Linked DNA regions of Homo sapiens: region 2 is linked to region 1. Evidence: promoter capture Hi-C in 16 types of primary human blood cells and fetal thymus (Javierre and others, 2016). All regions are on one chromosome and are shown on one strand. The core of a region is centred on a gene start or on the middle of the fragment in contact, and the rest is flanking DNA. Distances in the headings are between cores, read along the strand shown. Region 1 holds the start of SMAD2 (SMAD family member 2). Region 2 overlaps SMAD4 (SMAD family member 4).

Evidence for each region. The method cuts DNA at HindIII sites, captures the fragments that hold promoters and counts their contacts. A CHiCAGO score of 5 or more calls a contact.
Region 2: a fragment that was not itself captured here is called in contact with the fragment with the promoter of SMAD2 in region 1 in 1 of 17 cell types (neutrophils); the score reaches 5.5 in neutrophils.

What each region holds. Positions count from the first base shown.
Region 1 is chr18:47,928,952-47,932,971 of GRCh38, reverse strand. It overlaps SMAD2 (SMAD family member 2), which reads left to right and starts at 2,313. Exons shown (of 11, transcript NM_005901.6): 1 at 2,313-2,611. LOC124904297 (a long non-coding RNA gene) reads left to right here. Exons shown (of 2, transcript XR_007066360.1): 2 at 1-784. RefSeq lists silencers at 1,395-2,324, 2,355-2,884. The HindIII fragment of the contact is 8,478 bases long and covers 1-4,020 here.
Region 2 is chr18:51,034,869-51,038,888 of GRCh38, reverse strand. The region is part of intron 1 of SMAD4 (SMAD family member 4); the gene reads right to left. Among named protein-coding and RNA genes, the nearest start is that of SMAD4, 6.7 kb to the right of the region's middle. The HindIII fragment of the contact is 9,660 bases long and covers 1-4,020 here.

The DNA of each region.
Region 1 (4,020 bases), core at 1,064-3,563:
GGAAGACAGACCAAAAACAAGAAACAGCCTTCCTACTTGTAAGTTGAACAGCCTTTGCCCTGGACCGTCCTCCCTAGTGGCTCTGGAAAGAGGAAACAAGGCAGAGGAGGTGGGACAGCTCCACCAAATGGCTTCCTGGGTGTCCTTCACAAACTTTTTTATTTTTATTAAGGGGTTAGTAGAGCTGCCTCTAAACTAACAATGGAAGAAACCACCCTGGAAGGGAATTTTTGGAGGAAGAATTTCTGCTGAGTAGGTTCGTCTCAGCATAAATGTTCGCACGCAACAGAAGAGAAGTTAATGATCACTGACTTTCCTTGAACTTCAAAGCCCTATGTTATTTACTTTCATATTTATTATTTAATCATCACACAACTATATTTAAGTAGGTATCGTTGCAGGTGAGTTCCATTTGCCAAAGATTACAGATCTGGAACAGAGTCGTACTCAAAGCTACAACGTGCCTGACTCCTGGGTTTATGCTCTTCATCGCAACCTTCCCGTGAGAAAAGTTCCTCTATGTGTGAGGACAGAGACGGTGGAAAGGACAGAGATTTTGAAAGGACATCTGGAAAACTTGTATGACTCAGGGGATGGCCACATCTCTCTTAAGGTCCATCTGAAGGCACCCTCCTCTGGGACACGTTCATTTCTCAGAAGAAAGCGTATACTTCAAAAACTCTTACTGTTTGGAGTGCTCATTTGGTACTTCCTGATTACCGATTTGTATTGCTAGTGCTTCTTTCCCGCTTATTTGAAGTCCCCAATTAAATCTATAAACTAAGCCACACATGAGAATGAATTACTGGACAGGCAGCCAAAAAAAAACTGTGTTCTAGTCTTGTCTCTGGCACCTGTGTGAAACCTAAGTTTCTTTTCAACTTTAGTTCTACGGTACTCCCTGCCTGTGTCACAGTGGGTGCATAGTAAACACCTGATGTGATTAGTTGGGCTCAATATTTTGTCAGCAGAGGCTTGGGTGTTCCTAAGGGTAACCGCAACAAGGTTTTCCCTGGGTGCAGTTATGTTCTGGGCAGCCGTAAGTTTAGGGCCTTGCTGCCTCCTGTAGGGCAGATGTGCAAGTTGGGGCCTAATCGTCGCAACAGTGGAGAAAAGGGGAAGGGAAGATATCCCAGCCATTAAGGGACATCGTGACAGATGTTTCTTTTAGACTTCACAAAGACCCTTCGGGACATGGATTATTGATATCATTTTTACTGAAGACGGAACCAAAATTTAGGTTAAACACTTATACCTGGCATCCCCTACCCGGGCCCTAAGTGCTCTCCAAAGACCCCACCTCTGGGCTTATTTACATCGCGAACCCGCCCTCGTTCAGCAACACGAGGGCCCCGCCCGCTCATTTGCATAGGGCGCGCCCAGTCACGGGCCGGGTCCTCGGGCTTCTCCCGAACCCCTTTTCTCTCTCAGGCGCGTCCTCCGCGCTGCGCGGGGCCTCCCCGTGGGATGAGCACGTGTCCGCTGCCGGCCTCACGACGGACGGTGGACGAGGCGGCAGGCCCCTACAGGCCCCACCCACGACGCTGGCGAGGGATCGGGCGGTCACCGGGAATCGTCTTAATGCGCGGCAAGGCGCGGGCCTCTCCCTCTCCGCCCGTGAGCCCCGGTGGGAGCGCGCCGGCGCCCAACTCAAGCGAAACCGCGGGCGTCCCGCCCCGCCCGGCCGCGCCCCGCCTCGCCTCACGCTAGACTGGGGAGGCGGGACCAATCAGCGAGCGACGTCTCCCTTCCGATTCGAGGCCCCCGATGCGCGGCTCACACCCCGAGCTTCCCTCGTGCTGATTGGCTGCGGGCGCCGCCGGTCCGGCCGGGAGGCGGGGCGGGCCGTAGGCAAAGGGAGGTGGGGAGGCGGTGGCCGGCGACTCCCCGCGCCCCGCTCGCCCCCCGGCCCTTCCCGCGGTGCTCGGCCTCGTTCCTTTCCTCCTCCGCTCCCTCCGTCTTCCATACCCGCCCCGCGCGGCTTTCGGCCGGCGTGCCTCGCGCCCTAACGGGCGGCTGGAGGCGCCAATCAGCGGGCGGCAGGGTGCCAGCCCCGGGGCTGCGCCGGCGAATCGGCGGGGCCCGCGGCCCAGGGTGGCAGGCGGGTCTACCCGCGCGGCCGCGGCGGCGGAGAAGCAGCTCGCCAGCCAGCAGCCCGCCAGCCGCCGGGAGGTGGGTGCGTGGCGCCGCGGCGGCCGGCGGCCGAGGGCGGAGGGCGGAAGCGGAGGTGGGCTGGCGGGGGAGGGCGCGGCCGTGCGGGCGGCCGGTAGGGCTGCGGGCGCGCGCCTGAGGGGAGGAGGGGCAGCGCGGGCGCGCGCGTCCTCACCCCCTCCTTCCCCGCGGGCGGCGGCCAGGCTCCCTCCCCTCCCCTTCCCTCTCCTCCCCTCCCCTCCCCTCTCTTCCCCTACCCTCCCGCGCGCCCGGGCCGCCGGCCGGGCCCGGGCCTGGGGGCGGGGCGGGAAGACGGCGGCCGGGAGTGTTTTCAGTTCCGCCTCCAATCGCCCATTCCCCTCTTCCCCTCCCAGCCCCCTCCATCCCATCGGAAGAGGAAGGAACAAAAGGTCCCGGACCCCCCGGATCTGACGGGGCGGGACCTGGCGCCACCTTGCAGGTAAAGCCTGGGCGCCCGCGGGCCTCCAGCTAGGGAAGTGTTTGCGTGCGTCCGCGGCCGGGGCGATGGGCCGTGTCACATGGCCGCTGCGGGTGGGGGCTGGGGTGTGGTGAGTTCGGGGGCTGTGGGTGCGCCGGCCCGGGCGTGCGGGTTCGGGGCCGGAGAGCCGGGAAGGGACGGGGCTCGGTTGCACTGCGCTGCCGCCCAGGCTGACGGGGGCGGGGGCTGCCTGCGTCCCTTCCCCTCGCTGCTCTCACACTCCATAGTTTGTGGTTCTGATTTTTAAAGCCGAAGGGCCAGAGCTCTTGTTTCAGGAGTTGTGGGGAAGCCTTGTTAGGGACGCGTAATACTTTGCCTCCACTTTTTTTTTTTGGTCTCGTAACCTTTGTTAACAGTGGTAGTCTCGGGTTTTCCATGGCTTGTGTGTACTCACAAACACGCACACAGCTGATAACTCTGTGATCATCCTTCACTCACTTGTGAAAGTTGTTCTGCGGGTGGAGCCTATTAGTTTTTATCACACGCCTTTGGAAAGCCCTCGAAGTGATTTCTCGTATTTCAAACTTGGTTTTTAAAATTGCAACTTACTTTGTTCTCTTGGAGGGGGATATTGTCTTTGGGTCAGGTACTTTTGTCTTTTACTTATCCTTAAAATGTCCTTTTGATCCTAAACAGAAAAAGAATGCCTGGGTTGGTTTTGTTATTCCTTTCTCTTGACCCTTTAAAAGCAAAATACCACCAGTGTGTTGTCAACCATACCTTTAAAAAAGAAATTTCCAGGTAAAACGAATTTGCAAGCAGCATTTTCCATCAAAGTCATGTCTTGTTTGTTGCAATTTGGACTATCTTAAATTTGGGTTTGTGAAACTTTTAAAACGACATGTGTAAAATAATTGTTAATAAATAAATAACTTGGAATAATTACATCTTTTTAGAAATGGTCTTTGAAATGTGATTTAATTTCCAAAATTCTTTTTCTCTCTTCTGACTTCATATGAATTGAACCTGATAGTTTCGTATGAATGAATCGCTGATAGGATGTTTTCCTTGAGCCTAGTAATAAATTTGCTCTTATTATGCTGAAAATTTGCTATTCTACTTTAACACCCTTTAAAAAGTTTCCATCTTACAGAGAAGTTAGTCAAATAGTTAAATGGAGTTTCAACAGTTTTAATACATGAATTAGTGAAGCAGATGAAGCAGAGATGGGAGAAGTAATTTAAAATGGGCTTCATAAATGTACCATAGTTTGAGGGTATTTAAAAAATTTGCCTTCGGAAAACCCATACAAGATATTTAAAGAATTTCCTCTGCCAGAAGGTCATTTAGCAAACGTTTATATTAAATTCAAAAGTAATACTTTTATTTTTAAAGTTCCTTAGCCGTTGCCGTAAACTTAGCTGTCGTAG
Region 2 (4,020 bases), core at 645-3,144, 3.1 Mb before region 1:
TTATTAAAGACACCAAATAGCTTTTATGCGGGCTATATACATTGATATTTATCATATTATAAATAAATAAAACTACTAAAATTTTTGGTATTTGCTTTATTAATTCATTTAAAATAATAAACCCATTACGTTAATATAAACATCTTATGAAAAACAGAATTTTCTAAAACAAAGTCAGGAATCAGAGTAACACTGTTTTACATCTTCACAAATTTCTCTTAATGCCTAGCTTAATAGGAGACAGCTGGATTCCCATATCTGCTTCTGCATTCAATCTGCTATGATATGTTGTTTTGTTTAAAGTACATGAAGAAAACGTGTCTCACATGGACAGCTAATTGGAAGAGAGGAGTATTTTAACAGCCTTCTCAGAAAACAATGGATATTCATCTTTTATTCAACACCAAAACTCAAGTGGCAATTCTGAAAGGTTAGTTGCAATGTGGAATTCACTGTATCAGTGAACTTTTTGGCTCTGGTGTATATAAAAATCCATTTGTCTATGTTGTACTTTGAACGGATCGCCTACCCATGCACGATTTTGTAACATGAATTGGTCATTTGGGAAAATATTGGTTCAATGAGTTACACAGATCTTCCCAGTGTTGACACACTTCCTCATACTGCCCCCCCCCCCACAGTCTCGCTCTGTAGCCTAGGCCCGAGTGCAGTGGTGCGATCCTAGCTTAATCCAGCCTTGAACTCCCTGGCTGAAGCAATCTTCTCACCTCACCCTCCTGAGCAGCTAGAACTACATGCCACTACACCTAATTTTTATATGTTATTGTAGAAACAGGGTCTCGAACTCTTGGCCAAAAGCAATTCTCCCACCTCCGCCTCCCACAGTGCTAGAAATATGGGTGTGCATCATCGTGCCCAGCCCAACATATTTTTTTTAATCACATTCCTTAATATCACCACCCATCTCATCAGAAAAGTCTTTAAGTATTAAGAAACTGGCAAGTCATAGTGACAGGAGTTTCCCAAAAATCTGATTTTCACTTGAAACATCAGATTTTAGCACTGGCTATAAATGTTCTCCTCGAAGTGGCCAGCTCACTTTATTCATTTCCAAGGAATTACCTGCCAAATACTCAAATCTAAATAGCTATCTGAGCTTATCTGTCATCCTGTTAAATAAAAATAAAAATGGTGTCCCACTAAAAAGCAGCTAGTTCAGCTTGCAGCTCAATAACACAAGTGCTTTTCCTAGAAAAGAACACTGTACTTCAATGTGCAGAAATGCTTTATGCATACTTCCCATTTAATCACACTATTAAAAAGACATACTCCAAGGTAGAGATTTTTTTAAAATTAAACCTTTTTACTGCTGCAGCAAGGGGATTATTAAGTGAAACCGGCATTTTTTCAAATGCTTATGTGTGTTTGACTATAAAGAACACAATGAGGACTCATATGTTTGGTATAACTGCCTAGAGTCATTTTAAAGTGCCAGCAGTTTACCCACCACTGCTCCTTCACCACCCATACAAATGTCCTCACAGTGAAAGGGCAAATAACGTCTCAGTTTCATTATGAAAATAATTTTGATTTTGTGAACCCCTTAAATATAAGGATCCTAGGGATCTCCAGGAGTCTGTGGACCATACTTTGGGAACCACTGTTTTAAAAGATGGTGGAAACCAAACTGAATTTTAATAACTGATAACTGAAAAATACATTTTATAAAACTTTTTTTGTTTTTTTGAGACAGTCTCGCTCTGTCAGCTAGGCTGGAGTGCAGTGGCACAATCTCAGCTCACTGCAACCTCTGTCTCCCAGGCTCAAGCAATTCTCTTGCCTCAGCCTCCCAAGAAGCTGGGATTACAGGCATGTGAGTAGCTGGGATTACAGGCATGTGCCACCATGCCCAATGAATTTTTGTATTTTTAGTAGAGACGGGGTTTCACCATGTTGGTCAGGCTGGTCTCAAACTCCTGACCTCAGGTAATCCGCACCCCCCTTGGCCTCCCAAAGTGCTGAGATTACAGGCGTGAGTCACCGCACCCGGCCTCATTTCATAAAACTTTTAACTGAAGCAGAGTTTCAAGTCATCTAGCTTATTCCTTCAAAGGGGGATGTATCAAAATCCCCCGCAGGTTAGGCCAGCTCCACTAACTAGAATCAAGGGTGGGGCTGTACCTTTAAAAAACACTCTGGAAGTCTGAGGTACTGTTAGTTTTACAAAGCATTGATCTAGTCTACAATCTTTACTTTACAAATTAAGTATCATGAGTATATGCAACTGATTAAAAAGACTAATTATATAGAAGTTGTATCATTTTTCCTTACAATTAGCCAGCCCCTTCATTATTTCAGCATCTATACACATTCTTCCTTCAACTAGTTTTAGTAGGCATATTTATGATGTAAGACACACCTAATGTGTTTATGTACAATGATTCCTGGCTTAGCTTACCCCATTAAATATTATTTCCGGTCATCCTTTCACTAGATTATTCAATTTTTACAAGGACTGCCCATCTACTGATAACATATGCTCTAGAATTCACTAGTGAATATCACTGACAAATATCCTTAATTCATCTTATATTTAGAAATACATTTTGACTTGAAAAGACCTGAGTAGCATACATTCATCCATATTAACATACAGAAATAATACCTTACTATAAAAATATATATTCGGTAGCATTCCTAGTTTTAAATCATAAATAAGATTTGGCTAGCCTGGGCAACAAAGCAAGACCCCCGCCCCCCCATTTCTACAAAACAGTTTTAAAAAAATCAGCCAGGCGTGGTGGTGCCGGCCTGTAGTCCTAGCTACTCTGGAGGCTGAGGCAAGATCTCTTGAACCCAGAAGTTGAAGGTTATAGAGGGCTATGATGATGTTACTGCACTCCATCCTGGGCAACCTGTCTCTAAAAAATAGATAAATAAAGCAGTAAGGATAAGCATACCAAAATAAACAAAACCTTTAGAATCAAGAGGCACTTTTTAAAAATAACACAGATTCCCATGCCTCCTCCACTCCATTCCCATTCTGAAGCAGCATGTGTGTTGCAATCAGATGGGAAAAAATATTTTTATTTTTTTAAATAGCTCTTCCAGAGACAGAGATGAAACTACTCCATAGCCCAGCACTTGGGAACTACTTCAGGTGATGTAAATGGAGAGCTGAACATGCCCTAGATGATCTCTACAGAAGTACTAGCTAGCTGGCCTAGCTGAGCAAATGTCTCACAGTGTATTAATTAAGCCCTGACAGAAAAAGCCCAATGCAACCTGCCTCTCAGAAACCAGTTAAGTGACTAGTTAATTGGGGGCTTGAAAATGTAAGGTTTACCAAGTAGATTAACGCCCTAAGAAGACAATTTGCATTGGGAGTTATATTTATTTATTTATTTATTTATTTTAGAGATGAGGTCTCACTTTGTTGCCCAGGCTGGCCTTGAAATCCTGGGCTCAAGTGATCCTCTTGCCTTAGCCTCCTGAAGTGCTGAGATTATAGATGTGAGCCACCAGACCAAGCCCACAGGGAGTTCAGATGCTAACTTGGGGACTTAAAGTAATTAGTCTCCAAAAGGAGTACAAGTAAGCATTTGAGAATATACTTTAAAAGAAAATCAACTTCCTATTTAAAATAGTGATGATATACTAACTTCTCATCATGGGAAATACAGCTTCCTAAAACTTACTACCAGACAGTTCAAATAAACTGAAAGTGAAGAAAGAAACAGAGGAGAAAGGAATAGGTGACAGGAAGGGGGAGAGAAAAGAAAGAGACAGACACAGAAGCAAAGCAAATGTGGCAATACTTTCAAAAGACCCGTTAAGTTAGATGTGTGAGATGGCTACACTGTACATGTGTGTAACACTGTATTAAAGAATGTAAAGCTAACACAAGTGAAACAGTTCAAAAGAAAAAGTCAGAGGACCCTAATGACTCAATCACTGCGGAGGGCTAACCTGGCTGCACCCTAGACCAACCAAATCATAATTTCTGGGGCTAGAATTCAGGTATCAGTATTTTGTAAAGCTCCTCAAGGGATCTAAAAG